Linked DNA regions of Homo sapiens: regions 2, 3 and 4 are each linked to region 1. The links are contacts of gene promoters, found by promoter capture Hi-C in blood cells and fetal thymus (Javierre and others, 2016). All regions are on one chromosome and are shown on one strand. The core of a region is centred on a gene start or on the middle of the fragment in contact, and the rest is flanking DNA. Distances in the headings are between cores, read along the strand shown.

Region 1 (3,181 bases), core at 330-2,829:
TTTTTGTTAAATGACTTCGGATTTGATGGATAAAAAAATTGTAAAACTAATCCAAAAAGTGGCAGTGGTGATTCTGGGTGTGATTACAAGAAAACAGGAAGGCGTTTATCTCTAAAAGACAAGTGGGGTGTTAGAGTCTTTGTAAAGCAGCAGTGGTTTTATCATTTTGTCACCTGAGGCACTGCCACAAAAAAATGAGGGAAATCCTGTCCTTAGCTTCCTCTAAGCTTTCCAGATTTTTGTCTTTTGCCCCAAAAGTAGGAAGGCATGCACTGCAAAAGATGGGTCATCTCCTTGGCGTTGAAGACCTGTTGAGGCACAAAGCCTCTCTCCAGTTGCTTGGAATACTCGATACCCACTCAGGATTTAAGGGTCCTTCCTCCCCATCAACTTCGTATGTTGCAAAACAGCAGCGATTTTTAAAGTTCTCAAACCATCCCTTGCTCGCATGATACTTATTTGGGTTGTCCTCCCCAGATGTTTCCCATTGGTTCCCTGTAGATGTATTTGGCCTGGTTGCAGAGGGCCTTCCGGGTCAGATGCCGCCCTCTGTCATCTGGCCTTCCACCTAAAAGGTTAACTGGGTCTCCACCTTCACGATGTTTACATTACAGGGGAATACACAGCAGCTTAGAGCAGATGGGCGACCAACTCTCCACGCTGGTCTTTCTTGGTTTCCTGAGGGTAGTGGAGGACAAGAGGGGAAAGCAGGGTCTTGCTCTGTCGCCCAGGCTGGAGTGCAGTGGCACAATCACCGCTCACTGAAGCCTCGACCTCCTAGACTTAGGGGACCCTCCCGCTTCAGCCTCCCGAGTAGCTGGGACTACAGGTGCGTGCCACCACACCGCACTAATTTTTTTCCTTTTTTTTTTTTTTTCTTTTTGGTAGAGACGGGTTTCTCACTATGTTGCCCAGGCTGGTCTCGAACTCCCGGGCTCAAGCGATCCTCCCGCCGCGGCCTCCCAAAGCGCTGGGATTACAGGTACGGCCACTGCGACCAGCTGCTTCTCCTTGGTGGACTGATCAACACCAACAAGGCGGCGCACGTCCCTATTACTCACGCCTTCGTCAGGCTCCTGGAGAATATTCATCCAGTCTTCCAGAGGCATGACGCTCCGCCTCCTCTTGACAGGTGGCTGGCCCAGGATCAAGATTCCCCTCCAGGCCACCGCTCCACCTGGGGAGGCCTCAGCCGCGGCCGTAGCCGCGGTGGCCTCCATAACGGCTGCAGTCGTCCCCGCCTAGAGCCTGGTTTTGGAGCCTCGAGGACGCCGACGAGGCTGTTTAACTTCCCGTGAGTCCCCACCCTCGCCGCTCCGCTGGCCGGGAATTTGGCAAGGCTTTGCCCTACGCGGTAAACACGTAAGCCTACTGGCCTCCGCATTTCCCTGAGCAGCGACCTAGATGACGCCAGACTGAGGGAGCCGCAACCACTGGCTACAGTTGACACGGCCCTAACGGAGGCTTCTCGCGAGGCTTGGCAGCCCCATAGCCATCTCAGGGACAAGGAGGCTGTGATCAGATCTCGCGAGGTTCAGGAAAGCGCCCCGGGAACTGGGCCGCTGGGCCAGCCCCTGCGTCGGGGGGCAAGATGGCAGCCCAGGCTTTGGCGCTGCTGAGAGAGGTAGCGAGGCTGGAAGCGCCGCTGGAGGAGCTACGCGCGCTTCACTCCGTGCTGCAGGCAGTGCCGCTCAACGAGCTTCGCCAGCAAGCGGCGGAGCTGCGCCTCGGCCCGCTCTTCTCCCTGCTTAACGAGAACCATAGGTGAGAGGACCCCGGGGGCTTGAGCCGAGGAGAGGGGCACCCCTAAATATGGACATGAGAGTGGTTGAGGGCAAGAACAGCGCTTTTCCCAGTCACAGGGGAGGTGGAAAGTAGCCGAAATTTGCAGAGAAGGAAGGATCCTGGGTTCAGAGGCAGGAGATGGGGTTCAGGTTCAGCCTCTGAGAGTGCCCCAGGGTGTTTTCTCCCGTCGCCTGGCCTCGCTGCCTCTGAGCAGTGAGGCACTGCCTTCTTCATCAAATAGAAATTAAAGGAGGAAAGCAAAGCTGTCCACTTACAAGGAGCATTCCACATCTCTTTGTACAGGTTCTTGATTTGTTTCCCCTTCTAAAAGGATCCTATCCTGGCAATGTGGCAAGAACCATCAGCATTTTAAATTCACATGCTTTTTCATCCAGTCATTCTTGTTAAAAAAATTTAATGCAAGTATACGCGCACAAAATGTGCAGTTACTTTGTTCTTTCGAACCCGAGGCTGGAATCGCCCCAAAAGCAGCGGCAAGAGAGTTCCCACGAGGGAGTGCTTCAAACCTTCCCGAGATGTGGCTGGTTGGGATGACAGAAAAAGAAGCACTGAATGCCAAGGCGATCAGTCCAAAAGCGTTTAGGGGGAAACCTGCAGAGGGCTGCAGAAATTGTCAAGACGGACACCGGGAGAAAGGTGTTCCTGGGTATGTCCGCAGTGAGGGGGTCAGGGTATGGAGTTCAGATGAGAGTTTAAAGGAATTTGGCTCAGGGTTGAGGCCAGTTTCTTCCAGTGTTTTGGGCAACAACCTAGGTACCTTTATCAGGCCTGTGAATGTTCAAGGCCCCTGGTTTATGGTCAAGCCTGCTAGGGAAACCTGCCGCTGGCTAGGTCAGAGAGCAATCAAGGCACTCTGATTTTCCATCAGGACAGAGAAAGAAAGGGGGCGACTGGAGGACCCTACAACATTATATGCAAGAATATAACATATCGTGTGTGGCACCAGAACACTAGAAACAATCTAAATATCCGTTAACAGAGGATTCCAAATTATGCGCTATTACTCTGTAACACTGTGCAGTTATTTAAGTTATTGAGGTAGATGTATATATATGTATGTGGACATGGAAAGATCTCTGTGTTTTGTTTTGTTTTGTTTTGTTTGTTTGTTTGTTTTCAGACGAGTCTCGCTCTGTCTCCCAGGTTGGAGTGCAGTGGCGCGATCTCGGCTCACTGCAACCTCCGCCTCCCTGATTCACGCCATTCTCCTGCCTCAGCCTGCCGAGTACCTGGGACTACAGGCGCCCGCCACCACGCCCGGCTAATTTTTTGTATTTTTAGTAGAGACGGGGTTTCACCATGTTAGCCAGGATGGTCTCGATCTACGGACCTCGTGATCCGCCCGCCTCGGCCTCCCAAAGTGCTGGGATTACAG
Region 2 (3,181 bases), core at 459-2,958, 110 kb after region 1:
AGCGTGGGCTCTTGGAATCTGATTCTCAGCTTTGTTTGTTCCCTGTGGATTGTCAGGCCATGGGCCTGGAGGCTGCTCCATTTCAGGAAGCGTAGCTAACAAGAATGCTGGTTTATGAATTTACACGGAGAGGTTGTTCATGGTCCTTTATTTGAGAATAGTAGTAAGTGGACGTCAGAGAGTCATCTTGCCCCAGGGGTACGCCCCTGTATTTTGATGGGAATATTTCAGTAGCTCCTAACTGGTCCACTCATGTTGCCTGGATGTTCCATGCTCCTTCACAAAGCTGTCCTTGCTAAGTTGCTAACTAGAAAACCCTTCCTGCCTACCAGCTAGTCAACAAACTCCTACTTCCCCATCAAAACCCAGCTAATATGTCCCTTCTGTTTTCTTTTCAACAACACCATTTATAGATCCTCCAACTGAGCCTTTTTAATAACACTAGTAATGTTATCATTTATTGAGCTCCCATTATCTGCTAGGCAATTTTAAGTATTGATATACTTGTACCTTTTAATGTTCATGGTAATTATGCAATACAAGTATAACTATTTACATTTCTTCCAGATGAGGAAACAACCTCGAGATGTTAGGAAATTTGCCCAAAGTCTCACAACCAGGACATGAAGAAACAGAACTTTCTGACTCCAAAGTTCATACTCTCCCCCTTACACCACATCCCCTTTTCCTTGCACCATTCACTTTGAATTGCAAATACTGCTTGTCACTTGTCACCATCTTCACCCTTGCCCCACAAGCCCTGGCAGGCAGGTGGTGGCTCTGATTTCAGGACTGCCACCCCATTGTCCAGTACAAGGCCTGCTCTCAAGTGGCCAATCCTAAAAGTTGCATAGCAGTGAATTGTTTCATTTACAGGAACACACCTTGGAAAATAAAAGCAATGTGTTCATTCTTTCCCTGCAGATGGGATAGGCCCACTCTCTCCCCCGAAGAGGTGATAAGGGGGCAGGTCTTGTCTCCTTGAGGACTTGCAGATGTTTCCTGAGGCCCTGAGAGCATTTCTGCTTCTGACCTGCCTTGGCTGCCACTGCCAGTTAATGTGAGCTGCTGGGAAAGCCAGCTTCATGGCTCTGCTGCGTGTGGATGCCAACCACTGACTCCAGCCAGCTCTCCTGGAAACTGCCCTGAAATATTAAGGCTAGTAGGGGCCCACCAAGGATGGAGGCTGCATCACCAGCTTGCTGGATTCTCACTGAAGCCCAGCAGGATTTTCATTGCAGAAACTAAGCTTGTTAAGACCTCAAGCTTGGCAGTCAGCTCTAGCTTTGAAAATCTCCTCTACCACTTACTAAATCTGTGGTCTCTGGGCAAGTTTCTCAGCCTTTCTTAGCCTCAGTTCCTTCATCCATAACAGGAAGTAATTGCCTTCTTTTCTAGGTTGTTGATAAAAAGAGATAATGCACATAAAACCCTTCCCATTGAGCCCAGCACAGTGCCTGCATACAACAACTGCACCAAAAGTGATGATAATAATGATCATTGTTATGCAACTATCCATGGCAAATTTTTTCTTGTTTGCAGCTAAGAATCTTGATATGGCTAATATTATTAGTTGGGGGAGCAGAATAGTTTCTTTGGAAGGACAAGTCATTTGGGCTAGATGAGTAGTTTTCCCTAGTCCAGGACCAGTCCTGCCTGAGAAAGTGATCTCCCACCTTTGGGTGTAAACATATGCTGTTCTAGATCCCAATTCCTGGAGTAACCCTGGGAAGGCAGAGGCCTGGTCAAAACAAGACCCGTACTTTCCTGAATGCCAGGAAGCAATTACTTCTGTATCCCAACCACCTAACTCTAGACAGAGCAATTAGCAATTATTAAAATAATTTATTATTTTTTGAAGAAAGTGAATGATAATTTTATAGTGAACAATGTTTAAAAGTTAGAAAGTATTTTCTTAGGGATTATGATACTTACATTACTTAAGCACACAAATACCCACAAAAAAGAACATGGACTTTATTTAAATTTTACATAACTATTTCTTGAACTCTTCCAGTTTTCATCAACAGGGCTGCAGGGAGAAACTGATTGATTTGTGCAGTTTGGGTTTCCAATATTTTCCCTGGACATTCTTTCATATATACTTTTCTATATTTTGACGAATTTCATTTTGTCATTTTTAAGCTTATCATAGTATTCTTTCAAATGGGGGCCAAAGTTTGCTCATCCACCTGTCATTTGGGACCTGGGTAGGCCCCACTTTATGTAATCATGCATAATACTAGCAACCTTTATTTAAAAAAAGATTTATTTATTTACTTATTTTTTGAGACAGTCTCACTCTGTTGCCCAGGCTGGAGTGCAATGGCATCATCTTGGCTCACTACAACCTCTGCCTCCTGGGTTCAAGCAATTTTCCTGCCTCAGCCTTCCGAGTAGGTGGGATTACAGGTGTCCGCCACCACACGTGGCTAAATTTTGTATTTTTAGCAGAGACAGGGTTTTGCCATGTTGGCCAGGCTGGTCTCAAACTCCTGACCTCAGGTGATCTACCCACCTCAGCCTCCCAAAGTGCAGGGATTACAGGCGTGAGCTACCGCTCCTGGCCTGAAACAAGATTTAAAAACAATTTTGGAAATACATCCTTAGGACGAATCACTTAGATGTGGACTTGGGAGCCAAAGGATAGGAATAGATTTTTCTGCTTTTGTTACTAAAGGTTGGATTATCCTGAAGATAGAGAAAACCAGCTCACAGAGATCCTCCATGCACTCACTTCTGGTCTGAAATAGGAAAGAAATACAGAAGCAATGCCAATGAGATGACAAGGCACTCTTTGCAGAGCCAGGCAGCATTTGCTGGAAGGGGCTGGACTTTTCTTTTCCATGGGAACGTTCTCAGCTGATATCCCAGTCCTCTGGCTGTCAGTTTATTCAGGGCTACTCCACCCCCGCCTCAACTGCCTTTGCAGGAATTGCACAGTGGTAGTTGACACAGAGCCGGACGCACTCTAGAACCTCCCATGAATTCCAGAGAGTCAAATGCCTGTGGTGGGCAGGAATAAATGTTCTACTTGAACAAGGTGACATGGCCTGGGAGAGGGAGAACCACACCGACCAGGCAGGGCCCCGCCATCAACCTGCTGATGCAACAGGTACCCCCTCCCCACCTGGATGGCAGATTTCTTAATTTACACAACTATAGATGCATTTATTTGGCT
Region 3 (3,181 bases), core at 451-2,950, 83 kb after region 1:
ATACAGAAGTCATCAAGGTGGTACTTGGTGCCGCTGGAATTTTTTTTTTTTCCTAGGCAGTCTTGCTCTGTCATACAGGCTGGAGTACAGTGGCATCATCATGCAGCTGGATTTTGACAGCAGAACTTCAGGCAGTAATTGGAGTCCTAATGTCAGTTCTTCCTTATGGAGGCCTTTATTTGGCCTGAGATTTTATTCAACTACTTTATAGATGCTGGGTTTATTCATACTATCGCCAGTTTTTATAAAAATGGAAAACTAGCTCATCCTTTTTGCAAAAGAAAGCAAAGTGGGGAGTCAGAATGAGAAGTGGATAGGGGATAACTAAAACTATTCTTTACTCTCCTTTCATTGCCTTTGAGAGCTAGCTCTTGCACACACTGACTTTGGCTTCCTTAGCGCATAGGTAAGGGAATTGCCTTTCCCTCTTTTGTGAATATTCTCATTTCTGAAAAATTCTAAGTCATGAGAAGATAAGCCCTATCCTTTCTTACAAGGATTGGATTTCTTGGGTGACACTGTGGTGTGGTGGAAGCCAGCGGCTTCTTTCAGGTTCATAAAGGCCATCATAACAACTTCAGGCTTCATGGTGTGGACAGGGATCCAGGAGAGCTGAGTGGATGTGTGAAGTTTCTGATAGATTCTGTCATCATTCCAAAGGAATGTAGTTTCCTCCAGCTCAATCATTTGAAGTAATACACATTGCCAAATCTGACTGTAACCTGACATTTTAGACCTATTGGAGAAATAGGAAGAAAGCCCCTCCAGTGGAAGGACTGGACTTGGAAGAAGTTCTGCAGGAAGGTGCATGCAATTGGATAGCTGTTCATGAGTGAAACGTGGGGAACATTGCTATGAAATTGTAAGGTTTGCACTTCATTTTTCGTAGTTTAAAAATTGCTCTGTTCTGGCTGTTGAAAACACTTGGTGTGAGGTTTGAATGAGGATTATATAATCATTCTAGTATTCATAGGAAAATGATTACTGCTCTCTATTTGTAAAACAAAAGAAATAACTTTCGGAAACAGTATTTTAGACATGAGGAAATTGTTTGTATTAGGCATTTTGATCTAACAGAATCAGCTAAGGATAGTGGATCCTGGCTTTACACATTTCTTTGACCAAACCCAGCTGGCAACTTGAAGTTGTTACTGTGTGGCTTCCAGATTGCCTAGAGGTGAATCCTACCAACATCACTGTTTTTTTTGTTTTGTTTTGTTTTTTTTGTATGTTTTTGAGACAGAGTCTTGCTCTATCCCCAGGCTGGAGTGCAGTGGCGTGATCTCGGCTTACTGCAACCTCAGCCTCCTGGGTTCAAGCGATTCTCCTGCCTCAGCCTCCTGAGTAGCTGAGACTACAGGCGCGTGCCACCACGCCCAGCTATTTTTGTATTTTTAGTAGAGACGAGGTTTCACTATGTTGGCCAGGATGGTCTTGATTTCTTGACCTCGTGTTCTGCCCGCCTCTACCTCCCAAAGTGCCGGGATTACAGGCGTGAGCTGCTGTGCCCGGCCCCAGCATCACTTTTATAGCTTTCTGTGCCTCTTCCTCTGGGCCTTGGTGTATGAAGCCACTTGCCTTTCTCTGTTGGGAAGCGAGCAGAATCAGATTGCTACTCATGATGCAGTCCGGGCAGGGCATACTGTCACCTTTGCCTGTGGACACAGTTGTCAGGATAGGGGAGAAGCCCTTTAGGTCCGTCTTCTTGACACAGCCCTCCTACCTGGTTACGCTGGTGCTTTCGCTTGGTTTAGACAACCAAGACACTTGAGAATTATGCTGTCCTCAGAATGTCTGATGAAAAGAACAGATTCACTTTTTTGACACAATGCCCATTAGCCATCTTTGGCAGTGTTTCTGATCAAAGGTTCCCCATGCCTGCTCTAGGAAAGTAAACTTTTTTCAGAATAAATCCTCAAATGGATTACTGAGTAGTCTTTGCACCATTCCCATCAGCCTAATCAGACTGAATGGTCACGCTCAGTGCAAAAAGCTGTTTTGCTGTTAGGATGTTTCAGTGTTTCTTGTCTTTCCTGGAACAGTTCAGTTGTTTAAATTTAGTAATTCAATCCTGACCAGTGTAAACCCACTTAATTATTGCAGCCTAAAGAATTCAGCTACTTCTACTCTTCATAAATGTGCCCAAGTAAATATGTGTTTTTAATATTCAACCCTGGAAAATTAGTAATTCAGATGATAAAAGCTCATGTTTTGGTGTCTTTGTACTCAGATTGTGAACAGGCATATTTCACTGATTTAGACTTAGTATACTTGATGAGAATGCTCAGGTTGAAGAGATAGTTCTGTCAGCAATCCAACATCTATAGCAATGTGGAAAAAGTAATCAACTCATATTTCACGAATTTGATGTATGTTGTGATTTAGAGGGCATGAGATAAAGTTTATATTTGAACTGTGTGGGGTAGGGGGAAGAAGAGGTTGCTTAAGCAAATAGTGGGGTGATTGTGGAACAAGATGTCTCTAAGATGAGAAGTTATTTTCTTGCATCATAGAAGCACTCTTTTTACCCGTGAGTGATTGTGTTAACTATAAATCATTTATATCTGTACATTAAAGCAGATTCCCTCAATTAGGCAAATTTGGTTAGCCAAGCCCAAGTTATTGTTTGTACTTGAAAGTAATAAAGCTGCATTTCCTTAAAAATATATTCTGTAGTTAAGACTTTGTCTTGCTTTCCCCCCAACCACTTCAGACATTTTATCCAACCAATGCAGGGACTTTTCAAAAGTCAGTGTGTTTTTGAAAATAGAACAACCCCTTGAGTGATCTGAGGTGGCTCTGTTTTTTTACTGTTTCTGCATCTTCTAGAAGGTAAACTCAACAATATAACCATTTCTGAAGGTGATCCAAAAAGCAAAACAATAAAGGTAAAACACAAGGAAATAATTTTGGTGAATTTCATGAATAGTTGCAAATGAAGGGATGGGGTGGGTAAAAGTCCCATTTTGCTTCCAGACCTTGGAATAGTCTTCCTCTCTTTTGCCCAAGGATGTGTCTATCCAGCACATCTTTGCATGAGTTCTTTCTTACTAACTTAAACTTACGGGGCTTCTTGTCATTTGAGTACCACGGCCCTGCACCTTTGATCCCCTGACAGCATCATTAAGGGCAGATTGTCATTCCTGTTTTACAGATGAGAAAGCTGTGGCTTGGTAAAGTG
Region 4 (3,181 bases), core at 406-2,905, 64 kb after region 1:
GAGTAGCTGGGACTACAGGCGTACGCCATCATGCCTGGCTAATTTTTGTATTTTTTTTAGTGGAGACAGGGTTTCACCATGTTGGCTAACATTTCTTTTTTTTTTTTTTTTCTTTGAGGTGGAGGCCCTCTGTAGTCCAAGCTGGAATGCAGTGGCGTGATCTCAGCTCATTGCAACCTCTGCCTCCCCAGCTCAAGCGATTCTCATGCCTCAGCCTTCCGAGTAGCTGGGAATATAGGCGCGCCATCATGCCCGGCTGATTTTTTTTATTTTAGTAGAGACAGGGTTTCGCGATGGTCTTGAACTCCTGAGCTCAGGCAATATGCCTGCCTTGGCCTCCTAAAGTGCTGAGATTACAGGCATGAGCCACTGCGCCCGGCCCAACATTTCTTTTTTAATGTAACTATTAGGACATTTTAAATTATATCTGCAGTTTGCATTATATTTTCTGTTGGATAGCACCGTTCTAGACCATTGGCTCTCAAAATATTGCTGATGAGTTAGAATCACCTGGCAAACTTTTAAGATTATTGGACCCTGCCTCAGATGTTCCCCAAGTTAAACTCTCTGAAAATAGGGACCTGCCTGTGTGTTTTGATAAAGTTGTATCACATGGCCATTGAGAACCAACCAAGTCCTACCCCTCTTTTTATACAGAAGGAAACAGTCTAAATAGCAAAGTGACAATAAATACAGTCTTTATTTCAGTATGCTATCATAGTTTTCCCAGGTTAAAATTCATACTCTAGCTCTTTCATAAGTGATGGCTATTTTTCCATTGTCTCAAACAGTGGTTCTTGACTGAAGGTAGAATTGTGGCTGGCTTTAGTCATTTCAGCTTTTTAAAAACTGGTCATTTGGTGCTTTCCTAGGATACTGTGCCATTATCATAGTGACTGTATTTAGTGGATTCTCAAAAATGTCTTTTTATTTGTTGAGGCTTATTGAAGGGTCATTGTAAGAATGAATTAATCATTAGGATTTTAAACTTAAAGCAAAGTCCTGAATTGTCACCATGATTAGTATAGAATTTTCATCAGAGGCAGAAATAAAGCCAACTTTTCCCTTCAGAATCTTAAGAGGCTTTACAAACTTTTTGTTGAGTTGTGAATATCTGGGGATAATTTATCCCAGGTTTTCCTTGAGGTTTCTTCCTTCACGTATTTCAAGATGACTGGAGCAATTAGCAGTTAGCTTTTGCAGAAGTTAGCCCAGGCTCTGAGGTTTGTCCTTGACTTGCCTTAGAGTGGAATATATTTCAGCAAACACCTTTACTATTTAACAATCCTTATTTGTTCAGAACTGTTGGGTAATGGACAAGCATGCAAGTGTAAACATGCAGTCATGTGTAATACCTATTTATTTGAAGTCAAATCAGAGAGCTCGTGATAGCCAAGGATTTATGAAATTTTTCAAGTGGAAGCACCAAGGGATGCTTTTAGTCTAATGACCTTCTGTAGCCTGAAAAGTTAAGGGAAAGTGTCTCACCCAAAAAGCTTGGATTCTGTCCTAGTGCTTTTGACTCCGTTTTGGTGACTCTAAGCAAGTTGTGTTACTCTCTCCGTGCTTTGATTTCTTCAGTGGTAAAGTAAAGTGCTAGAGGAAGGGACCGTTAATGTTCTTGAAGAACACCATGATTTTGGGATTGATTTTCCTTCTTTAGTGTGTTTGTTTTCTTATTAACCTCCCTGTTTTTCTCTTGAAGGGTCAGATGACTTGTCTGCAAAGCTGTGGGATGTGAGCACAGGGCAGTGCGTTTATGGCATCCAGACCCACACTTGTGCAGCGGTGAAGTTTGATGAACAGAAGCTTGTGACAGGCTCCTTTGACAACACTGTGGCTTGCTGGGAATGGAGTTCCGGAGCCAGGACCCAGCACTTTCGGGGGCACACGGGGGCGGGTGGGTTGCCCTTTTTCAAGGGTTTTTACAACTTAGCCTCATCCTTTTAAGCCAGGAGCCAAGAATGTGAAATGCTTTTTTTTTTTTAATTTAACCTGCTTTTTTCAACCCTCTTTCTTAGTCATTGCAGTTATTTCCCTTTATTCTAGTTACTCTTATTTCGAATGTTTTACCCAGTTTTGCTTTTTCTTGCTTTCTTCTATGTGTGTACCCTTCTGGTGGGAAGGGTAGTTTTCATTCTCTCTCTGTTTCTCTCTCTCTCTCTCATTCTCTCTCTCCCCCCTCCTGTTTCATTTATATCCTATTGAACAGACAGTCCCTTGGCTTTTATCAGATTCCATACCTCTGAACTGAGTAAATCCTACTTGTGTAAATTCCACTTTATTTGTAGCATTAGGGCTGAAAGTTCTTTGGTGTGACGGTGGTTCTTAGATTGTGTGGTCTACACAGATTACATCCAGTTTGAGCTTGGTTGACAGTTGATTAAAACAAGCTACCACCTAGAGATAAGGCGAAAGAAACATACCTGAATGTTTCCTAATAAATGTATAGCATCCTTATTTTGCAAAAACTGGTCATTTGAATATAGCCTTGAGATTTGAGCTTCTCTCTCTGTTGCTTTTTTTTTGGCGGGGGCGGGGGTGGGGAGGCTTTGTGTAGAAATTGAGCTATTTCCCAGCCTCTTGTGTTGAGCAGCTCCCTTCCTTTCCCCCATTTACCCACTGCTTTAGCCTCTGAGAATCATAGTCTGTAATGTCAAGCATTACGTTTATGAGCAGCCTTCCAAAACTCCCTTAACAGGTTGCGTCCCTCTATTTCCCAGTAACTTGTATTACTGTAGACCGCTCATCATACAAATATAATCTTGCTTCCCCACCAGACTAAACTCCATAAGGACAGTGATCTTATCTGTCTTGTTCACCCATGTGACTGGAGTTACTTGCACTGTACCTGGTGCTTAGTGATTCTTTGAAGTAAAACTAGCCGTTAGGCTAATAAAAACACGTATTTTTTGCTTCATTTTATTTGTCCTCCTATATACTCTTCTTCAGTCTTTGCTGTCTGCTACCACTTGTTAGAAATTAATATTTGAAGGTGCATGTATGCATGGAAGTATATGTTAAATTGAGTGTTATGTTCCACAATGTTAAGATGTACCATGACTTCCAGGTGATTTTATTCCTGATCAACTTTGAGAACCCTGCTCTAAAAATTTTTATTACTGTTGCCTAGACATTGCTGAGGTTTTTCTTAACTTCATACCTTTACTATTCCCTCTGC

What was found. The method cuts DNA at HindIII sites, captures the fragments that hold promoters and counts their contacts. A CHiCAGO score of 5 or more calls a contact.
Region 2: a contact is called between a fragment that was not itself captured here and the fragment with the promoter of PSMD5 in region 1, in 1 of 17 cell types (monocytes). The highest score is 5.2, in monocytes.
Region 3: a contact is called between a fragment that was not itself captured here and the fragment with the promoter of PSMD5 in region 1, in 5 of 17 cell types (monocytes, activated CD4 T cells, naive CD4 T cells and 2 more). The highest score is 6.4, in monocytes.
Region 4: a fragment that was not itself captured here is called in contact with the fragment with the promoter of PSMD5 in region 1 in 1 of 17 cell types (naive CD8 T cells); the score reaches 5.1 in naive CD8 T cells.

Annotation. Positions count from the first base shown.
Region 1 is chr9:120,841,320-120,844,500 of GRCh38, reverse strand. PSMD5 (proteasome 26S subunit, non-ATPase 5) reads left to right here and starts at 1,579. Exons shown (of 10, transcript NM_005047.4): 1 at 1,579-1,764. The coding sequence starts at 1,592. It also overlaps the pseudogene CUTALP. RefSeq lists enhancers at 1,008-1,357, 1,316-1,610, 1,376-1,670, 1,558-1,857, 1,429-1,958 and 1 more. The HindIII fragment of the contact is 10,742 bases long and covers 230-3,181 here.
Region 2 is chr9:120,733,085-120,736,265 of GRCh38, reverse strand. No RefSeq gene overlaps it. Among named protein-coding and RNA genes, the nearest start is that of MEGF9, 20 kb to the right of the region's middle. The HindIII fragment of the contact is 879 bases long and covers 1,269-2,147 here.
Region 3 is chr9:120,758,682-120,761,862 of GRCh38, reverse strand. FBXW2 (F-box and WD repeat domain containing 2) reads left to right here. Exons shown (of 8, transcript NM_012164.4): 8 at 1-3,181. Among named protein-coding and RNA genes, the nearest start is that of FBXW2, 33 kb to the left of the region's middle. The HindIII fragment of the contact is 8,038 bases long and covers 1-3,181 here.
Region 4 is chr9:120,777,070-120,780,250 of GRCh38, reverse strand. It overlaps FBXW2 (F-box and WD repeat domain containing 2), which reads left to right. Exons shown (of 8, transcript NM_012164.4): 4 at 1,706-1,900. Among named protein-coding and RNA genes, the nearest start is that of FBXW2, 15 kb to the left of the region's middle. The HindIII fragment of the contact is 313 bases long and covers 1,499-1,811 here.